Linked DNA regions of Homo sapiens: regions 2, 3 and 4 are each linked to region 1. Evidence: promoter capture Hi-C in 16 types of primary human blood cells and fetal thymus (Javierre and others, 2016). All regions are on one chromosome and are shown on one strand. The core of a region is centred on a gene start or on the middle of the fragment in contact, and the rest is flanking DNA. Distances in the headings are between cores, read along the strand shown.

Region 1 (2,574 bases), core at 1-2,500:
CAGGGCATTGGCCACGCCATCTAGGTTTTGGAAAAAATCGTCATCATAGATGCGCTCCGTGTCAGGACCCACACGGTTCTGGTGGCTTGTCACCCGGATATGTGGATTCATTTGGCGCACAGCTGCAGCAGCCGTGTCAGACTTTAACTTCTAAAGGGTTAAGAAAGTGCAGTTCCAGGGTGGGGATGGGGGAACAAAGCTCACTTATTTGTGCATTCACCCAACAAACATCTTTATTTTTTTTGAGACAGGGTCTCTCTCCATCACACAGGCTGGAATGCAGTGGCATGATCACGGCTCACTGCAGCCTCAACTTCCCAGGCTCCAGCGATCCTCCCACCTCAGCCTCCCGAGTAGCTGGGACCACAGGTGTGTGCCACCATGCGTGGCTAATTTTTGTATTTTTGGTAGAGACAGGGTTTTGTCATGCTGCCCAGGCTGGTCTTGAACTCCTGAGCTCAAAGACCTCGGCCCCACAAAGAGCTGGGATTACAGGCGTGAGCCACCGCACCTGGCCCAAACACCTATAAAGGGCTGTCTGCCTGAGACTGATTTACTTAATGCTGGGGAAGACCCAGGCCCTGAGTTAGGAGGCTAGCAGGAGAGACGGTCTGTGACAATGCCACATGGCCAGGATGATGATGCATGTGGCAGGGGCTCAGCATAAAGGGAAGCTGTGGACAGGAACAGACTGGAGACAATGGGCCAGACATCTGTTCTTTCGTCTAACACCTGCTATTTTTTCAGGTAACAGCACCCAGGATTGATGCAGACTCCCCCAACCACCACCAGGATGCTGGCACACAGACAAGCAGGATCCTTTCAAAGCCCAAATTGGGCCACGTCCCTCCTCTGCTCAGAATCCTCCCCTGGATCCCACCTCCACTTACCGTAAAATGAGTTGGCTCCCTGACCCCTCCCACCTCAGGATCTTTGCGCAGGCTCTTCCACAGCAGAGGGCACTCTAGTCCCTCATATCCTTGAGGTCTTTGCAGAACTCAGGCCTTCCTTAACCATTGTCATCAATACTACAAACCATTCTCCCTGACACCCCGACTTCCCTTGTCTGGTTTTAGTTGTTTCCTTTGAGGAGCACTCATCACCAACATTAACTATATACCTCACGATCGTATTGTGTCTATTGTTTGCTGTCCGTTCCCCTCTCCCTCCAGGAATCTTGTTTTATTCCTTGGTATATCCCCAATACCTAAAACAGTACTAAAACTATCTGGTGAATAAATGAAATAAATGAAAGGGGGAATAAATCCTGGGTAAGCAAAAACGACACTGCTCCTTACAGAAAGCTTCTCAGAGAACCCTGCATAACCAACCCAGTTTCCATATGTGCAGAGAAGTGTAAGCCTAGGAGACTGAAACTACAACCCTTGGAAAGGCCTGCTTCCAAGGTCGGCTCCTTGGCTGGTGTCTGGGAACTTGGAATTCAGGAAGGTTCCCACCGCTCCCTACCTGGTATCAGTGGTTCACTGTGCCTAAACCGTTCATGCAAACAATACAGTTTACGCTGAACACCTTTCCTTCTGGGAGTCTGGAAATTTTGTTATGTGCCAGGAAGGGGGCGCCTACATGACCAGCCCCAAGTAAAAGAGGTGGTGCTGAGTCTAACAAGCTTCCCTGGTTGGCAACATTTCATGTCTTGTTACACCTTGTTGCTGTTATTTCTGTAGTTACTGTTGCTACTGGGGAAATAAAGGCCGCCTTGTTTAACTCCCGCTGGGAGAAGACTCCTAGAAACTTGCACCAGCCTTTTCCCTTTGCTGATTTTGGTCTGTATCCTTTTGCTGTAATAAATTGTAGCCACAAGCACGACTATATGCTGAGTCCTGTAAGTACTCTAGGTGAATTGAGCTTGAGAGTAGTTTTGAGGACCCCAGACACACTGTCCCAACCAGCACTAAAAAGAGGTTAAGGCAAAAAAAAAAAAAAAAAAAAAAAAAAAACAGAAGCTGAGGGAAAGAAAGGCCAAAAAGAAGGGCTTCTGGCAGAGGCAGAAAGATCTCTGACAGAAAGAATGGGAACAAGAAAAAGGAGGGGTGAGGTGTGGTGGCTCACGCCTGTAATACCAACACTTTGGGAGGCTGAAGCAGGCAGATCACCTGAGGTCGGGAATTCGAGACCAGCCTGACCAACATGGAGAAACCCTGTCTCTACTTAAAATGCAAAATCAGCCGGGCGTGGTGGCGCATGCCTGTAGTCCCAGCTACTCAGGAGGCTGAGGCAGGAGAATCGCTTGAACCCAGGAGGCAGAGGTTGTGGTGGGCCAGAGATCACGCCACTGCACTACAGCCTGGGCAACAAGAGCGAAACTCCGTCTCAAAAAAAAAAAAAAAAAGAAAAAGGAGGAAAGTGAGACGACAAAGCCCCAACCTCCTACCCTACTCACCGTGACATCCCAGGGCCGGAAAAGAAACTGTCGATTCAGATTTGACTTCTCAATGGTGTCCATGTCTGTAACGATGATTTCTCCACCCTCCCCGCAGCCCAGCCCAATCATGGCAAAGTTCTTGAGCAGCTCACAGCCAATGGCCCCCGCACCCACCTAAGAAGCAACCAAGA
Region 2 (2,574 bases), core at 39-2,538, 470 kb before region 1:
GAGACCCTGTCTCTAAAAACGAGAAAAGAAAAGAAAAGGAATGACAACTTTTAACATTAAAGCCTTAAAAAATTTCAGAACATACTAGAATGGGATATGACTTATTCTTTCAGTTGGTTATAGAAAAATAAAACAAAAAAATTATTCCTGTTACGTAATGTAAGGTAACTAAGAAATAAGTAGTGCAGTAAGCTTAAAGTGATGTCTATTTATGTAAGTGTGAATATATTTTAAACACCATCTGACTATGTTTGTCAAGTTACACCAATGGATTAACCACAGATGTCCATGGTAAGGATGCAATATTTCATCTGCTATGAGGGATATTGTATTAGTCCATTTTCACGCTGCTATAAAGAACTGCCTGAGACTGGGTGATTTATAAAGGAAAGAGGTTTAAATAACTCACAGCTCAGCATGGCTGGGAAGGCCTCAGAAAACTTGCAATTATGGCAGAAGGCAAAGGGGAAGCAAGGCACTGTCTTCACGAGGCGGCAGGAAGGAGAAGTGCCAAGTGAAAGGGGAAGATCCCCTTATAAAACCATCAGATCTCGTGAGAACTCACTCACTATCATGAAAACAGCATGGAGGAAACTGCCTCCATGATTCAATTCAATTACCTCCACCTGGTCTCTCCCTTGACACGTGGGGATTATGGGGATTACAATTCAAGATAAGATTTGGGTGGGGAACACAAAGCCTAATTCTAAGAATTAAAGAAAGAGGAAAGAAACATGAAAGGTGGCTCAACAGTCAAGGACAGGTTTATTTTAGAGAAAACAAACCTGACAGGGGATTCTGGCCAAGTTAGATCAGAGCCCACTCTCTTACAGACTAAGAGTTTTTAAAGATTTAGGGTGGGAGAGTTTATCAGAGGCTTGGACTGCTTCTGTGTCTCTTCATTTTGCTTATCTGGGAGGGAGAGTTTTGTGTCTGTTCCCATACATCTTCCTGCAGCTGCAGGCATACCCCCCCAGTCTACTTTTAGCTTCCCTATCTTAGTGCACCTGAAGGGAAAGGAATGTGCTTAGTAAGGCCCACTGTTTCACTGGGGTCCATTGTATGAGGGTGAAGTTCGGCAGTTACCCAGGAGACTTCCCCCCCGCCTCCCTCTGTGCCTGAGCTGTCTTATCTGTGTTTTACTGTCTGCTCTTTTCTGGCTGCTTGTAGTTAGAAAAGAAGTGATTTCCTTGAAATGCATGAGGCTAGAAAGGGAGCTTGAACTTAGAGTGGCGGTGTTTGTCCAAGATGACGGTGCTCCTGCTCTGTCATTAACCATATCAGATATTAAAGAAGAAACACATTTTTTTCTAGAAGTGAGGAAAGAATATTAAACAAAAGTGATAGGCAAAAAAGACAGAGAACGTCATCACTGAAATAAGGGCACCATTAATAGGGAGAGCAATAATAGTACTCACTTATTGCTGCTTCAAACCATTATCTTCTATTGTTGGGAATAATGCAATAACCATTCTTATGTGTCACAATCATCACATATATACAAATACACATGTGAAAATACAGATACTGCATGGTGACTAAGCATGTTTGGAATAAATCAAGAGTCTAAGTCACGACATACATAAATCATTTATATCTAAACTGCTAATTCAAGACAGGCAGCGTGGTGTAATGGTTAAGAACATGAATGCTGGAGCCAGATATGTATTCAAATCCTGCCCCTTAATGGTTTCTCAGATATGGCACAAAAAGTACACATAAAGAACCCTTACACTTTGCTAAAACAAAATAAATAAATAACCCAACTAAAAAATGGGCAAAGGCTGGGAGCAGTGGCTCACGCCTGTAATCCCAGCACTTTGGGAGGCTGAAGCGGGCGGATCACCTGAGGTCAGGAGTTTGAAACCAGCCTGGCCAATATGGCAAAACCCCATCTCTACTAAAAATACAAAAATTGCCCAGGCGTGGTGGTGCATGCCTGTAATCCTAGCTACTTGGGAGGCTGAGGCAGGAGAATGGCTTGAACCAGGGAGGCGGAGGTTGCAGTAAGCCGAGATTGCGCCACTGCACTCCAGCCTGAGCAACAGAGCAAGACTCCGTCTTAAAAAATAAACAAACAAATAAATAAATAAATATACTGCTAATTCATACTGGTACACATTTTTGTGAAACATACTAACACTTTTTAAGTGATGCAATCAAAACTCTAGTTACAAGGAAGGGAGAGACATCTGGAAAGGTTGACTAAGGAGCTTGGCAATCCTCTCCACAAAACGCCATGACAAAAGTGGACAAAATTGCCAAAAACAACCAGTTAAAGACTCTGGAAATTTACCAAGGTAATATAACAAATTGGGAAGTGGTTATTCAAGAAAAACTACTGAGGCTTGGAAGCAGAGCAAGATGGCCAAATAGAAGCTTCCACTGATTGTCCCCCGACAGGAACACCAAATTGAACAACTACACACACAGAAAACCACCTTCATAAGAACCAAAAAGCAGGTAAGCAGTCACAGTACTTGGTTTTAATATTATTTTAAGGAAAGAGGCACTAAAGAAGGTAGGAAAGACAGTCTTGAATCACCTACACTACCCTTCCCTCACCATCTGGCA
Region 3 (2,574 bases), core at 46-2,545, 420 kb before region 1:
AATGATTATGAATTAGTGCTTTTATTGTAGTCAGAATCATAAAGATTTGACAGGTTCCCATATCCCACCTCTGCTTGGACTACCTCATTTGCTCATATGCAAACATTATTTGGTACCTACTGTGTGTGCACCATGGGATGGGCCTGCCTCTGTGGAAAGTTCTTGGGTGCAGGGGGAGACAGCCATGGGCACTGATGACATCAGGTAGTTATCGTGAGTTTTGGCGGTGTCCAGAGCAAAGGGATGGTGGCGTATATACCAAGTGTGTTCTGGTGTGGGGGTGGACACGCACCAGGGCTAGGGCTGCAGAGAATGTCTGTGTTGCAGATCTAGGTTTCTCCATGATCATCGGTGGGAATGTGTTTTGTCTGCAAGTGTATGCTCATATGAGTTTCCCTGGGTCTCTGTGTGTCAGTGTGTTACCTGTGTGTGTGGGGGTATGGGTGTATGCATGCATGTATGTAACATGCCCATGTGTGTTACTCTGGACTTGTATGTCTGTATGTATACCTAGATTGGCGTGTGTTCTGTCTGTACATGCCCTCGTATGTTTCCTCACTTTTGTGTGTGTTTATATGTGTGTCATTTCTTGTGTGCCTCCAGGCCCCCCTTGCCACCTTGGGCAAGGGTGTGTACACCACCCAAGTGTCCACCTCCGCTTGTCTGATGCTGTCTGTGACGCCCCCGCTCTCTGCCTAGCTGAGCCTGTGTGGATGTGGGAGACTAATCTCCCCGCGGGCACTGCGTGTGACCTCACCCCCCTCTGTGAGGGGGTTATTTCTCTACTTTCGTGTCTCTGAGTGTGCTTCCAGTGCCCCCCTCCCCCCAAAAAATGCCTTCTGAGTTGAATATCAACACTACAAACCGAGTATCTGCAGAGGGCCCTGCGTATGAGTGCAAGTGGGTTTTAGGACCAGGATGAGGCGGGGTGGGGGTGCCTACCTGACGACCGACCCCGACCCACTGGACAAGCACCCAACCCCCATTCCCCAAATTGCGCATCCCCTATCAGAGAGGGGGAGGGGAAACAGGATGCGGCGAGGCGCGTGCGCACTGCCAGCTTCAGCACCGCGGACAGTGCCTTCGCCCCCGCCTGGCGGCGCGCGCCACCGCCGCCTCAGCACTGAAGGCGCGCTGACGTCACTCGCCGGTCCCCCGCAAACTCCCCTTCCCGGCCACCTTGGTCGCGTCCGCGCCGCCGCCGGCCCAGCCGGACCGCACCACGCGAGGCGCGAGATAGGGGGGCACGGGCGCGACCATCTGCGCTGCGGCGCCGGCGACTCAGCGCTGCCTCAGTCTGCGGTGGGCAGCGGAGGAGTCGTGTCGTGCCTGAGAGCGCAGCTGTGCTCCTGGGCACCGCGCAGTCCGCCCCCGCGGCTCCTGGCCAGACCACCCCTAGGACCCCCTGCCCCAAGTCGCAGCCATGAACTACCTGCGGCGCCGCCTGTCGGACAGCAACTTTATGGCCAATCTGCCAAATGGGTACATGACAGACCTGCAGCGTCCGCAGCCGCCCCCACCGCCGCCCGGTGCCCACAGCCCCGGAGCCACGCCCGGTCCCGGGACCGCCACTGCCGAGAGGTCCTCCGGGGTCGCCCCAGCGGCCTCTCCGGCCGCCCCTAGCCCCGGGTCCTCGGGGGGCGGTGGCTTCTTCTCGTCGCTGTCCAACGCGGTCAAGCAGACCACGGCGGCGGCAGCTGCCACCTTCAGCGAGCAGGTGGGCGGCGGCTCTGGGGGCGCAGGCCGCGGGGGAGCCGCCTCCAGGGTGCTGCTGGTCATCGACGAGCCGCACACCGACTGGTAAGCCACTGCCGCGGACGTCTCCCGTGGGCCTGGGTCCCCAGATCGTTCTTCTGCGAATGAGCAATTATCGAGCGCCGCTTGTGTGCCTGACACCTGGCCCTCTCACCTAAATCTTTTTCCTTTAAATTATTAAGCTGGATGCTTCCTCTGTGCCCCGCCCTTGTCGCCCCCCTCCGCCCCTTAAACCTTGATGGATCCAGGGAGCAATTATCAGGCACCTGCTGCGTACCTGTTCCCTACTACCCCTCCCCCAAAAGTCTTTGGCTTCAATATATCCTATGAGCCTTCGAAAACCGAACGTGTCCTTCCTACCCTCCCCAACCCTTGCCCCATAGGCCTTGTCCTCTAATGGATCTTGTGAGCACTTATCTAGTACCTGCAGTATGCCTCATCCAAGAGCCCTTCCCCAAGGCCTTTGATTTCAATGAGGTTTGTGAGCATTCTTTGAGAGCCTGATACTGTCCTGTTCTCCTCAACCCTTGCCCTGAGGCCTTCTCTAATGGGTCTTGTGAGCATGTGTCCAGTCTATGCTATGTGTCCCACCCCAGCTCCGTCCTTAAAGCCCTTTTAAACTATTTAGTAAACATTGAGTACCTGCTGTGTATCCCACCCCAGCTTCTCTCCAAAAGCTTTGCCTTTCATGGATCCTGTGAGTTTTGATTGGATGCCTTCTCTGTGCCCCAACTCCAAGCCCTCTCTCTGAGGGCCTTTTCTCCAAAGGATCTAGGAAGCATTTGTTAAGTGCCTGATACGTGCCGCACCCCCAAACCC
Region 4 (2,574 bases), core at 25-2,524, 300 kb before region 1:
ATAGCTACATAAAGCCGTGTAACACCAAAGTGTAGCTTAACTGGTTCTTACAAGGCAAACACCTTAGTAACAACCACCAAATTCAAGAAAGAACTCTGCCAGCCAACCCAGAAGCCCCATCCAATTTCAACTCACCAACCTTGACCTTGACTTTATAGTAATTACTTCCTTGCATTTCTTTATATCACCCAAGTGTACATCCTCAAACATTACATGTTAGTCTTGCTCATGAAAAAAAAATGATTTGTTTTTTAAGTCTCTTTTACTTTCAAGGTCCTCACTCAAATCTGGATTTTTCACAGCCTGGATTTGGGTGATTGCATGTGCATGGCAATATATTTCTCTGTACTCCATGTTTCCTGCAAATTGGCAGGTCAATGCAGGGGCCAGATCTGGTTCAAGCTTAATTCCTTTAGCAAGACTACATGTGCTCTCATCAGGGGGCACAGAATGTCTGGTTGTCACTCTTGTGATGTTAGCAGCTGAGATGCTTCAATGCCTAGAAGATCCATGAAATTGATTGGTGGTTGCAAAATGGTGATATACAAATTCCAACCAACAATTCTTTTTCATTTATTAATTGCAACACTTTTATAGAGATGCTTTTGTTCATTTATCATTTGGTTACTGATACTACAGTTTATTTAGGAAAGGCAACATAAATGCTTTATTCTTTGTCCCTTTATCAGTTTTCAAGAAAATGATTTGGTTCCCTATCATTCCCCAAAGGTAACTATTTTTAAAAAGATCATTGTGAACTCATGAATTTAAGCATATTAGGCAGGTTTCAGTCAAATTGCATTTATTAACTTCTTGAAGCTCAAATTATCTCATCTGCGGCCCGTGAGAGACTCCTGGAGTTGGCTCCCACACCCTTTTGACTTGACCCTAATAGATATTAACAGCTTTCTCACTATCGGCTCTTATGACAAGATTCCAGGATTATCTTGTACATTTCCAGTACCAGATCTGGTACTGATTCCTTTTCATGGGAAATGGAATGTCAAGGCCACAATTTGGGTGCCAGGGTTGCTCATTACTGCTGTGTTGGTCGTTGTTTGTAGGCCTCTTCAGCAGACAGAGCTATGAAGTGTGTGTGTGTGTGTGTGTGTGTGTGTGTGTGTGCACATTCTTTTTAAAAATAAACTGTTGTGAGATCATATTGATATGTCCAACTCAAATTCAGGAATATAGGTTTTTTTTTTCCTTAAGCTCTCTTTTATATTGTATCTGTATTCCATTTCTTTTTTTTTTTTTTTTTTTTTTTGAGACGGAGTCTCGCTCTGTCACTCAGGCTGGAGTGCAGTGGCGTGATCTCAGCTAACTGTAACCTCCGCCTCCCGGGCTCAAGCGATTCTCCTGCCTCAGCCTCCCGAGTAGCTGGGATTACAGGCAGCCGCCACCATGCCTGACTAATTTTTTGTATTTTTAGTTGAGACGGGGTTTCATCATGTTGGCCAGGCTGGTCTCAAACTCCTGACCTCAGGTGATCCACCCGCCTCAGCCTCCCAAAGTACAGGGATTATAGGCATGAGCCACCACACCCGGCCTGCATTCCATTTCTCTCACAACAAAATTACAGGTTCTCATAGACGCAGGGATGATAGAATTGGAATATCTCATAATTATTAATTTATCCCATTCTGTTGGGGGGTCCCAGGGCCACCCCCCATGTTCAGTGACTTGCTGGAAGAACTCATAGCACTGAGCATAGCATATAATTGTCCTCACAGCTAAGGTTTATGACAGCAAAAGGATATGTGACAGAATCGTCAAGGTAAAAAGACACAGGCAGAATGTGAAGGATGCTGTACACAGGCCTCCTCATGCTGTCTCCCCCTCGCAGGAGGCTTGCACAGAGCTGTCCTTCTAGCAACAAAAATCCAGGAACACATGTATAATGCTTCTCCCCAGGGAAGCCCATTAGAGGTTTGGTGCCCAAAGGTTTCACTGGGGGCTGGTCACTAGGCACCCTCTACCTAGTGCTTACCAAAATTCCAGGCTCCCAGAATGAAAGCCGGTGATCAGCAGAAACCACTGTTTGCACAAACAGGTTGGGAAGAGTAAGCCATCCTTATCAGTTAAGGAATTCTGGGAATACTCCCGAAATCCAAGTTCCTAATTGCCAGCCAAGGGCCAAGCTTGTAAGCAGGACTTTCAAAGGACAATAGTTACAGGACTGCTATGTTAACCCCCTTCTGCTTAGTCCACCCCTTGGTCCTGGCATCTTCACAGCAAAATTATCAGTAGGACCCCATGCAGCCAGGTGAGACCACCCTGCAGATTTAACCTCACTTATACCCTCCAGGGGTCCTGGATTTAGCCAGTTAAAACAAATTCCAGGTGGGGCACAGTGGCTCACACCTGTAATCCCAGCACTCTGGGAGGCCAAGGCAGCAGGATTGCTTGAACCCAGGGGTTGGAGGGCAGCCTGGCCAACATAGTGAGACCCCCTGTGATGGTTAATACTGAGTTGTCAACTTGATTGGATTGAGGGATACAAAATATTAATCCTGGGTGTGTCTGTGTGGGTGTTGCCCAAAACAGATTAACATTTGAGTCAGTGGGCTGGAA

The links. The method cuts DNA at HindIII sites, captures the fragments that hold promoters and counts their contacts. A CHiCAGO score of 5 or more calls a contact.
Region 2: a fragment that was not itself captured here is called in contact with the fragment with the promoter of INE1 in region 1 in 1 of 17 cell types (activated CD4 T cells); the score reaches 5.2 in activated CD4 T cells.
Region 3: a contact is called between the fragment with the promoter of SYN1 here and the fragment with the promoter of INE1 in region 1, in 5 of 17 cell types (total CD4 T cells, non-activated CD4 T cells, naive CD8 T cells and 2 more). The highest score is 6.6, in total CD4 T cells.
Region 4: a fragment that was not itself captured here is called in contact with the fragment with the promoter of INE1 in region 1 in 13 of 17 cell types (naive CD4 T cells, fetal thymus, activated CD4 T cells and 10 more); the score reaches 8.7 in naive CD4 T cells.

The regions. Positions count from the first base shown.
Region 1 is chrX:47,203,524-47,206,097 of GRCh38, reverse strand. It overlaps INE1 (inactivation escape 1), which reads right to left and starts at 1,250. Exons shown (of 1, transcript NR_024616.1): 1 at 237-1,250. It overlaps UBA1 (ubiquitin like modifier activating enzyme 1), which reads right to left. Exons shown (of 26, transcript NM_003334.4): 14 at 2,402-2,557; 15 at 1-150. It overlaps LOC105373194 (a long non-coding RNA gene), which reads left to right. Exons shown (of 3, transcript XR_949047.4): 3 at 748-1,830. The HindIII fragment of the contact is 2,713 bases long and covers 1-1,306 here.
Region 2 is chrX:47,674,613-47,677,186 of GRCh38, reverse strand. No RefSeq gene overlaps it. Among named protein-coding and RNA genes, the nearest start is that of UXT, 17 kb to the right of the region's middle. The HindIII fragment of the contact is 2,187 bases long and covers 195-2,381 here.
Region 3 is chrX:47,618,578-47,621,151 of GRCh38, reverse strand. It overlaps SYN1 (synapsin I), which reads left to right and starts at 1,295. Exons shown (of 13, transcript NM_006950.3): 1 at 1,295-1,800. The coding sequence starts at 1,424. RefSeq lists silencers at 1,072-1,281, 988-1,282. The HindIII fragment of the contact is 11,977 bases long and covers 1-2,434 here.
Region 4 is chrX:47,504,074-47,506,647 of GRCh38, reverse strand. The region is part of intron 1 of LOC124905183 (a long non-coding RNA gene); the gene reads left to right. Among named protein-coding and RNA genes, the nearest start is that of ZNF41, 22 kb to the right of the region's middle. The HindIII fragment of the contact is 1,739 bases long and covers 405-2,143 here.